Linked DNA regions of Homo sapiens: region 2 is linked to region 1. The links are contacts of gene promoters, found by promoter capture Hi-C in human tissues and cell types (Jung and others, 2019). All regions are on one chromosome and are shown on one strand. The core of a region is centred on a gene start or on the middle of the fragment in contact, and the rest is flanking DNA. Distances in the headings are between cores, read along the strand shown.

Region 1 (4,437 bases), core at 1,870-4,369:
CTAAGGAACACGAATTTTGGTGAAAAATTCTTGCTACTTAAGACTCTTGCCAAACAATCTACAAATGAAAAGGAGTCTGGAGACTGTGACCACTATTGGCCACTTACGAAGTATTAGGTAATAAAGAAGCAATGATAAGAAGCAAGTGATGCTGACTCCTGCATTTTGTTAGATCTGATTCTGCATGTATATTAATAATGATGCACCCTATGGATGCAATTTCATGTTTATAACACTTTGGTCATTGGCAGCATTGTGTATCTGTGTTTTCCATGCCTTCCCATCTGCTGCCTACACCATTCAGATTCAGGTGACAGAAATATTTTATATAAAAGTTAATTAGCCTGCACTCTACAGATCAAATCTCTGTAGTTCGGCTAGGAATCTTCTGGGCAACTGCTGAATATGGCTTGTACTCAACCTTCCTAAGATTAAAAATGTAAGATTTATTTTCTTCTAGAAAAAGAAATCTTTAGTACTCCCTTGACAATTTATGCATAGATTCTATCAAACTTTTCATTGTACATTGCCCTTACTCATTTTAGTTTTTATCTCGGCACATATATCAGAAGTGGAAGAAGATTGGAAATACAAATTTTTCCAGCTGCAAGAGTTGAGTGAAAATGATGTAGAGTCAGAAATCCTCCAGAATGTGGACTTTTTTACTAGTACACTGACCAATGTTGATCAAGTCCCCAGACTTTTCTCAGTTTCTCAGTCGTTAAAATGGGCCCATGCCAATTACCTATTTGCTTCATAGATACTTTGTGCAAGGCTTAACACAGCTTGAGATTATGATAAAAGTAACATATAAAAGGCAGAAAACTCATTACTAAATAAGGACTCTGTCTTGTTCTTAAAGATTCATCTCCTCATTATTACTTGTCAACGTTAAGTTCACAAATAGCTCTTTCATTGAAAATATGTTTAGCTTTTTTAATCAATAAGAAACTAAATCATTTAATTCCTTTTTTTTTTTAATTCTTAGATGATGGGGAGAGAAATGGGCTGAACACAGCAACTGAATACCAGCCTCTGAGTCCACATTACATAGAAGGAAAGTAGGGACAAAGAAACAATCCCCAAATAAATCTCCCCGTCCATCTTTACACTTTTATATATTTCTAATGCTTTCCAATATCCGAGACTAATTGACCACTCTTCTCTACCTATGGCTTCTGTACTAGGTGCAGATTTTCTATTTACCCAGAGGAATTCAGAGCGATGTGCTTTCTTCCTTACACCTTTGCCTAAGGCTCAGGCACACCTTCTGAAGAAGTCAGAGAGAGCAGATGCTGCTTTTCCGACACATGCTGTCAGAGTTGCTCTTGGGAGTGTGACACCTAGCCAGGAGTCAGGGATACCCCACCCCCATACCCTGCTCTTGTAGTTCTTCAGAACCTTCACCGCTCTCCACGGTCCTGAACCTCGACTTCTACTTCCCGTCGGGCATCTACTAGATTTCTCCCAGCCGGTCAAAATATGATTTTCTCTCATATTCTCCCCACTTCTTTCCTTCCAGCCGCGACCTCACTGCGCGTTTTATTTCCATCCGCGCTTTAAATATTTTATTCTACTTCTACTAAGCTCCTTCTACCTACCACCTACGAACATGGCCCAATCGTTAAGCAATATCAAAGTTATAAAGTAACAACTCCCCTCAGACTTTACCAAGCCGTTTTCTCTCCCCTCATGCAATGGCCCCGGCCCCCAGCAGCGCCCATCTCCACTCCACGCACCAGGCTCCTCTCACCTGACTCTCCCGTGGAAACTCGTGGCGCACGATGCTGATCACTGGAATGTGCAGGACTAAGCTGACCAAGTCGAGCTCCATCATTTCGCCCTGGCTCTGGGGGAAGGCGAGCAGCGCCGACACCCCTTGCACCACCACGGTATGGCACACACTTTGCAGGAAGGAGAAAGGGTCACTGCTCCATGGCGAACTAGGGGAGGAGAAGGGCAAAAGTGGCAGATCGCCCAGGCCTGCCTCGATGGCCATCACTACTTCCAAAGACAGGTTGTAGGGTAGCAGCCCTTCCACGCGGTTCAGGTTGTCCACGGCAAATAGGAGGGCGTCCCGTGGCCACAGGGCCTCCGCCCTGGCGCCCTCCCCGGGCTTACGGGAGCCCGGCGGCCCCCGGCCATGCAGGGTGCTCCCCAACCAGCGTGCGCCCGGCGAGGGCGCCGGGGACCGCCTAGTCCCTGGCTCCGGCTCATCCCTCTGGGCTCCTGCTCGGCTGTCGTCCGGAGCGCGGCTGGCCGCGCGGGGGGCGGTGGTCCAGGGCTGCAAGTGCACCGCGCCCACCCTCACCGCGTGCCCGATGCGCTTGAGGATCTGGCAGGGCTGCGGGTGCGAGGAGGAGCTGGGCACCCCGGCCAGCACCAGTGCGCAGGGCGGCGGCAACAGCAGACAGACCCTGCTCAGCAGCCACCACAAACTCAGTCTCCTCATTACTGAGACCCGCAGGGAGAAAGCGCGCCCCCTCCTGCGCCCGGCTCGCCCCTCTGCAGCCGCTGCCTGAGGTCTCCGCCTCCAGGTCCCGCGCGCAGCTTCACTCCACTCGGTGAAGCGGTCCCAGGAGCTGGAGCGGTCTCTAGGCCATGCAAGTTGGAGCGTAGCGCGCCTCCGGCAGTCTCAGATCCCGCTCCCAGGTCCCTCCGCCTGGCATCCTCTGCCCGCCCGGTCACTGCGCTGAGCAGGCAGGCGGGCGGGCCGGCGCCTGTCACCCGCAGCTGGAGCGCCCGTTCCCTGCCCGCCCCATCTGCAGGGCGCCTCGGGCACTGCGTCCGGCCCCGCGAGGCGGCCGGGATGAGAAGCAGCCGGAGTTCCTCGGGGGCAGCAGTGACAGAGGAGCGACGCGCTCTCGCCTGGATTCTTTTCCTTTTCTGCCCAGGCGAGACCCACTTATTTCCTGGGGTCGCGTTGGAGAGGGCTTTCACGCCCGGGGTGCGGAAAAGAAGCCAAATCCACCTTCCTCCACTGTTGGCCACCCTCCTGCAGGCTCCCCCAGCGCCGACTTCATTTTCTCTCTTCTCTCGCTACTTCCTCTCTGCCTTTCTTTCGTTATTTTTCCACCGAGTCGCCACCGCCGCTTGCTTCCTCGGAGGAGCAACGCGACTGGCCAGCAAAGGGTGGCTCTGCTCCGAGCGCCAAAGTTCTCCCCGCCTCAGCCGGCGCCTCCCTGTTGCTGAGCCCTGGCGCCTGCCTGTCGCTTGGCTGCGCTAAACGCCCACTGTTGGTGAGATTCCCGAGTGGCACATCCCGCGCCCCTGGAAAGTCCTCTCCCCTCAAAGGCTGGGCGTCATAGTTTGCAAAATTCCCTAAAACCTAAGAAGGAAAATAGGACTATGAGCCGGTGAGAATTCTGAATTCAGAGTCGCACCTGAGGGATCTGAAATTCGGTGGTTCACTGAAATAGGTTCAAAGAGGCTGTGACTTAACGAGCTTCTGGATGTGTCGCTTTTAAGGTTTTTCTAGCTAAGGGTATTAAAGTAAGAATTATTTACACATTTTTATCTCCTCAGCTTCTTTCTTTCTGGCATGTGAGCCTTTGCATTTTTTTTTTAAAGAATCCCTGTTTTTAGGTTCTCAGAATTAAAACAAAGTGAATTCAAAGCAATTTTTTCAGTTCAAGAAATTAAAGAGTTTCAAAATACTTTTAGAGTTTAAAATGCAGTCAACAGCAGTTCCCAGTTTAGATCAAGAGTCCCCAGATCACAGTTTGTACTAAGTTATTTCATTTGTATGGTAATACAGTGAAGTCAACGTGTTGTGATCTAATCTTTTCCTCCATGATTTGAATAATCTGAAACTAGAAGGTAAGGAAAGAGTTAAGGGCAGGCCTGTGGTTTGCACATATACAGTAGATTAATTTTATTTTATCCCACAGTATCGTTTAGAAGGAGGGTAGGAGAGATCCATGGGGTGGAGCAAGCACTGGGGATCAGCCTTTCTGAGTCTAATACTACTTCATGACCATGACCTTGGCAACTTATTTCACCCGACCTTGCCCTGCTGTTTGGATCTGCTAAATTGTTATGCAAATACAGCTGGCTTTTAGCTCTGGAGGGTTGTTTTGATTCATGAGCTAAAGTTTCCATCATGTTTTAAATCCTGGGAAGAAGAGACTCTAGTTAAGTAAAAATCCCAAGAAGCTTGCAAAGTGAATGCTGTTTTCCCCAGCCCAGATCTTTAAAGGTATCTCAGAACAAATTTACCAGACATTCGGCATCGTTTTTGCAAGACTGGGTTGCTAGAGAAGAAAAGTCTCCCATGAGAAAAAAAGTGAAAATCATAGTAGTGGGCTGAATGAGGAGGGAAAGAAACCCTCCTGAAGCCTGAGAGAACATCCCATGAATGGAGAAAAGCTGCCTCTAGTGTGCTGGAAATTCCCCCTTGATCCACAGGATTCCACTGATTGAGATCTGAATAATAAA
Region 2 (4,930 bases), core at 214-2,713, 1.1 Mb after region 1:
TGAAGTACATGGTGGGATTTTTTTTAATTTAACTTTTATTTTAAATTCAGAGGTAAATGAGCAGGTTTGCTATGTAGATAAATTTGTATCATGGGGATTTGTTGTACAGATTTTTTTTTAATCACCCAGGTATTAAGCTTAGTACTCACTAGTTATTTTTCCTGATCCTCTCCCTCCTCCTAACCTCACCATCCAATAGGCCCCTGTACGTGTTGTTTCTCTCTATGTGTCCGTGTGTTTTCATCATTTATCTCCCACTTATAAGTGAAAATCTGTGGTATTTGGTTTTCTGTTCGTGCTTTAGTTTGCTAAGGTTACTTGCCTCCAGCTCCATCCAGTTTCCTGCAAAGGACATGATCTTGTATTTTTTTTTTTTTTAACTTTAAGTTCTGGGATACATGTGCTGAACGTGCAGGTTTGTTACATAGGTATACATGTGCCATGGTTGTTTGTTGCACCTAAACCCGTCATATAGGTTTTAAGCTATACCATGTGCTAATGTCATTCCTTTTTTTTTTTTACTTTAGCTAGACAATGGGGTTATTAAATTATATTTTATAATTTAAACTATTATATATTTTGTAATTTTTTCATAAATGATTTAAACTAATAATATATATTTTGAATAGTTACTGGAAATAGAAAATAGCCCATAAATCACCACAATTTTTTTCTTTCTTCAGACTTCTTTCCTCTTCCCTTTTATTCTTCCTCATTTATGTGTTTTTTCTCACATTTTTCTCTCTTCTTTTTACACATTTCGTTTTCTCCACTTGTCTTCTCTCCCTCTCATACTTCTTCACATTGAAATGTTGATCTTTTCTTTTATCACCTTTCTTATTCTCTTTTTGGTCCCATTTTTTCCACTTCATCTATTCTGCGATGATTTTTTTTCTTTGGTTTGTTTCCCAAGGACTTCTTGTTATTTTACTTATTATTTTGTAATCAAATATTTTTCCTCCAACGTTTATGTTCGGGGATGCACGTATCAACTTGTTACATGGGCAAACTCTGTGTTGCTGGGGTTGGTGTCCAAATGATTTCATTACCCAGGTAGTCAGCATAGTACCCAAGAGGTAGTTTTTCGATCCTCAATCTCTTCCCACTCCCCACCCTGAAATAAGCCCTGGTGTCTATCCTTCTCTGTGTGTACACATGTACTCAATTTTTAACCCTCACTGATGAGAACATGTGATACTTGGTCTTCTGTTCCTGAGTTAATTTCTTTAGGATGTCTCTAGCATCTTTCTACCATAAAACACATGAATGCACATGCATATTGCAGACTTTTCACTCTCGCAAAAACATGGAATTAAGATGCCTATCAGTGGTGAACTAGATAAAAATATGGCATACATATAAACCACGGAATACTATGCAAGCATAAAAAGAATGGAATTATGTTTTTGGCAGCAACGTAGGTACAACTGAAGGCTATTCTTCTGCTAGTATTTGCCTATGTTTCCATCTTCCTAGACTTCTCTTCTTCCTTTCTTTCTCATCTCTTTGCCCCCTTCTTCTGCACATCCTACACTCTTTTTCATCCCATGTCTTCATAGTAGTCCTGACATGGAAGAGAAATAAATTCCTAGTTCTTCCCAAAGAACTTGGCAAATCATATTCCAATTTCAATTTCCATAAGTCTAATTGAGGGCTTTTTGCATTATGCAGAGATTCATACTAACCTGTGTAAAACATTCCCCACTTCACTAGCATTTCAATTTGAACACTATCTTAGATCCATTAAGTTCATAGTAATTTTGAACACAAATTCACCATATATATTTTCAGTTTGTTTGTCTTCTGTTCTTGTTACTTGCTGAGTAATTTTAATTTTTATAAACCTAAAATATTTGGCCCAATTAAAATATTCAAAGGTTATAACCATCAGAAAAATTCACTAATAAATATAAATTTGTTTACATAAAAAATGATAAGCTTATTAGTGGCATTTTAACAGACCATAAAATAAAAAAAAGCACTTATTCTCATATACTTCCAAGAAAGAAAGAATTATCAAACTCTACTTAGCAGAGATGATCAGAAAATAAGTTATTTTGCCTCAGGCTTCCCTGGGAAAGACCTACTTTATTAGAATTAAAATAAGCCACTTATTTTAATTCTAAATTCATGAAAACACACACTACCTCTAAGCATGTCTGTTGGTAAGTTTAACGTATTTGTCTAAATTCAATTTTTATTCTTCCAGCTTACAGATAATGAAGACAAATAGGTTTCATATGTCAAACTCTGTCACTGCTTGGAGAAGACTTTTAAAAATCCATCACCTATTGCCTAGGTTATTTATTTAAAATGTACAGAAACTTCTTTAGTCCATTAATAATATGGGAAAGACAAGATGTCTTTGGATTTTAATATAAGCAAATTTGTCACCCTTTCACGTTTACATGTGCTTTCTGAATTAATTAAATTTGAAACTCTTACTCCAAGATTATAGCCTAGATGTTTTCTAAATACTCATTTTGAAAAGAAAAGTGATAAATATTTTGCATTACTTTTAACCCTAGACATTATAGAGATACTCAGTTTACATAGTCAATTTATTTTTCTTACTAACTTGTTCTACAGTCTTAATATTTGTTTTTATTTTCAAACTTATGAGGATACTTAAAAATGTATTTCCAGGCCAGGTATGGTGGCTCATGCCTGTAATCACAGCAATTTGAGAGGCCAAGGGAGGTGGATCACTTCAACTCAGGAATTCGAGACCAGCCTGGGCAATATGGTAAAACCCTATCTCTACAAAAAATAAACAAAATTAGCCAGGCATGGTGCCACATACCTGTAATAACAGTTACTTGGGAAGCTGAGGCATGAGAATTGCTTGAACCTGGGAGACAGAGGTTGGAGTGAGCCAAGATCATGCCACTGCACTCCAGCCTGGGCAACAGAGCAAGACTCTGTCTCAAAAAATATGACATACATATAAACCATAAAAATGAATAAAATTATGTGGGTTTTTTTTTTGCAGAAACATAGGTACAACTAAAGGCAATTCTTCTGCTACTACTATACACACACACACGCATTTCCAAAAGTCTTAGTGCTGTTTTAAGCTTTACACATACACACACACACGTATATTTCCAAAAGTCTTAGTGCTGTTTTAAGCTTTACGTAGTTTATTAATTCTCTTACTAGTATCTCATGAATATTCTTGTGACTATCTACAAAGCATCCAAGAATAACTTTGGTCAGCCCCCAAGTCGAACTAAGCTATGGCTCTTCAACAAGGCTGCCTCATCTCATTTATTTTTGTCTCTGTTATTTGCTACTTTTCTAATCAGTTCACCTTGACCTACATTAATAGCTTCAATTATAAACCAATTCTGGGATAGTTATGTGTTGGATTATGTCTCCCCAACCCCACCACCAATTTATATGTCAAAGTCATAATACCCATCACCTCAGAAAGTAACCGTAATTGGAGATAGGCTCTTTAAAGAAGTAAGTATATTAGTCATGGTTCTCTAGAGGGACAGAGCTAATAGGATACACACACACACACACACACACACACACACACACACACATATATATGTATGTTATGTTATATATGTATATATATGTTATATATGTGTGTATATATAAAACACACATATATATATAAATAAGGGAGAGTTTATTAAGTATTAATTCACATGATCACAAGTTCCACAATAGGCCGTCTGCAAGCTGAGGAGCAAGGAGAGACAGTCCCAGCCCCAAAACTGAAGAGCTTGGAGTTTGATGTTCGAGGGCAGGAAGCATCCAGCACGGGAGAAAGATGTAGGCTGGGAGATTAGACCAAACTAGGCTTTTTACGTTTTTCTCCTTGCTATATATTCTAGCCATACTGACAGCTGATTAGATGGTGCTCACCCTGATTAAGGGTGGGTCTGTCTTTCCCAGCCCACTGACTCAAATGTTAATCTTTTTTGGCAACATTCTCACAGACACATCCAAGATCAATACTTCAATCAAGTTGACACTCAGTATTAGCCATCAGAATAAGTGAAAATGAGGTCAGAATGGTGGGGCTCTAATCCAATAGGTCTAGAGTCCTTTTAACAAGAGGAAGAGTGTGTGCACACTGAGAAAAGGCAATGTGAGAACACAGTGAGACAGGAACCCTCTGCTAACCAAGGAGAAAGCCCTCTCCAGAAACCAACTCACCAGTACCTTGATCTTGGACTACTGACCTCTGAAACCATGAGAAAATACATTTCTGTTCTTTTAACCACTAGTCTGTGGTATTTTGTTGTAACAGCCTTAGCAAACTAGTATACTACTGACCAAACCTTCCTTACTTTGAAGTAGAAATTATGTAATAGCTTTCATGTTTGCTCCTTATTTTTTTTTGCAAACGCTCTTTGCCTATGCTGCGGATTCTATCATGAATAGCGTATCCAAGAATTTTTGCTTACTATCTTAAATGCTTTATGAGTCATAGTTGTTGACTTAAGCCATGAGTTCAAATAATGGGGCACTTCTCTGGCTCCATTTGTAAGTTATGATCAATTGCAAACTTCCTTTGTAATTCACTGGTTCAATTCCACTAAAATCTATGTGCTAAGCTTTATGCTAAGTACAGTAGCTCCCCTTATTTGTGAGGGACCTGTTCCAAGACCACCAATAGATGCCCAAAGCCAAAGATAGTACCAGACTCTACACATACTATGTTTTTCCTATAAATACATACTTATGATTAAGTATAATTTATAAATTAGGCAGAGTAAGACATTAACAACAATAACTGCTAATAAAATGGAACAATTATACAATATACAGTAATAAAAATTGTGTGATTGCGGTCTGTATCTCAAAATATCTTATTATACTATACTCATCTCTCCTCTTGTGATGATGTGAGGTGATAAAATGCATATGTGATGAGATGAACTAACAGAAATGATGTAGGCATTGCGAC

Evidence for each region. Contacts are between HindIII fragments. The study calls those that stand out against the background at their distance.
Region 2: a contact is called between a fragment that was not itself captured here and the fragment with the promoter of GRIN3A in region 1, in 1 of the 25 tissues and cell types used here (dorsolateral prefrontal cortex).

Annotation. Positions count from the first base shown.
Region 1 is chr9:101,735,528-101,739,964 of GRCh38, forward strand. It overlaps GRIN3A (glutamate ionotropic receptor NMDA type subunit 3A), which reads right to left and starts at 3,120. Exons shown (of 9, transcript NM_133445.3): 1 at 1,754-3,120. The coding sequence starts at 2,452. RefSeq lists a silencer at 1,240-1,534 and enhancers at 2,429-2,953, 2,954-3,477. The HindIII fragment of the contact is 8,904 bases long and covers 1-4,437 here.
Region 2 is chr9:102,836,155-102,841,084 of GRCh38, forward strand. No RefSeq gene overlaps it. Among named protein-coding and RNA genes, the nearest start is that of CYLC2, 160 kb to the right of the region's middle. The HindIII fragment of the contact is 3,282 bases long and covers 1-3,104 here.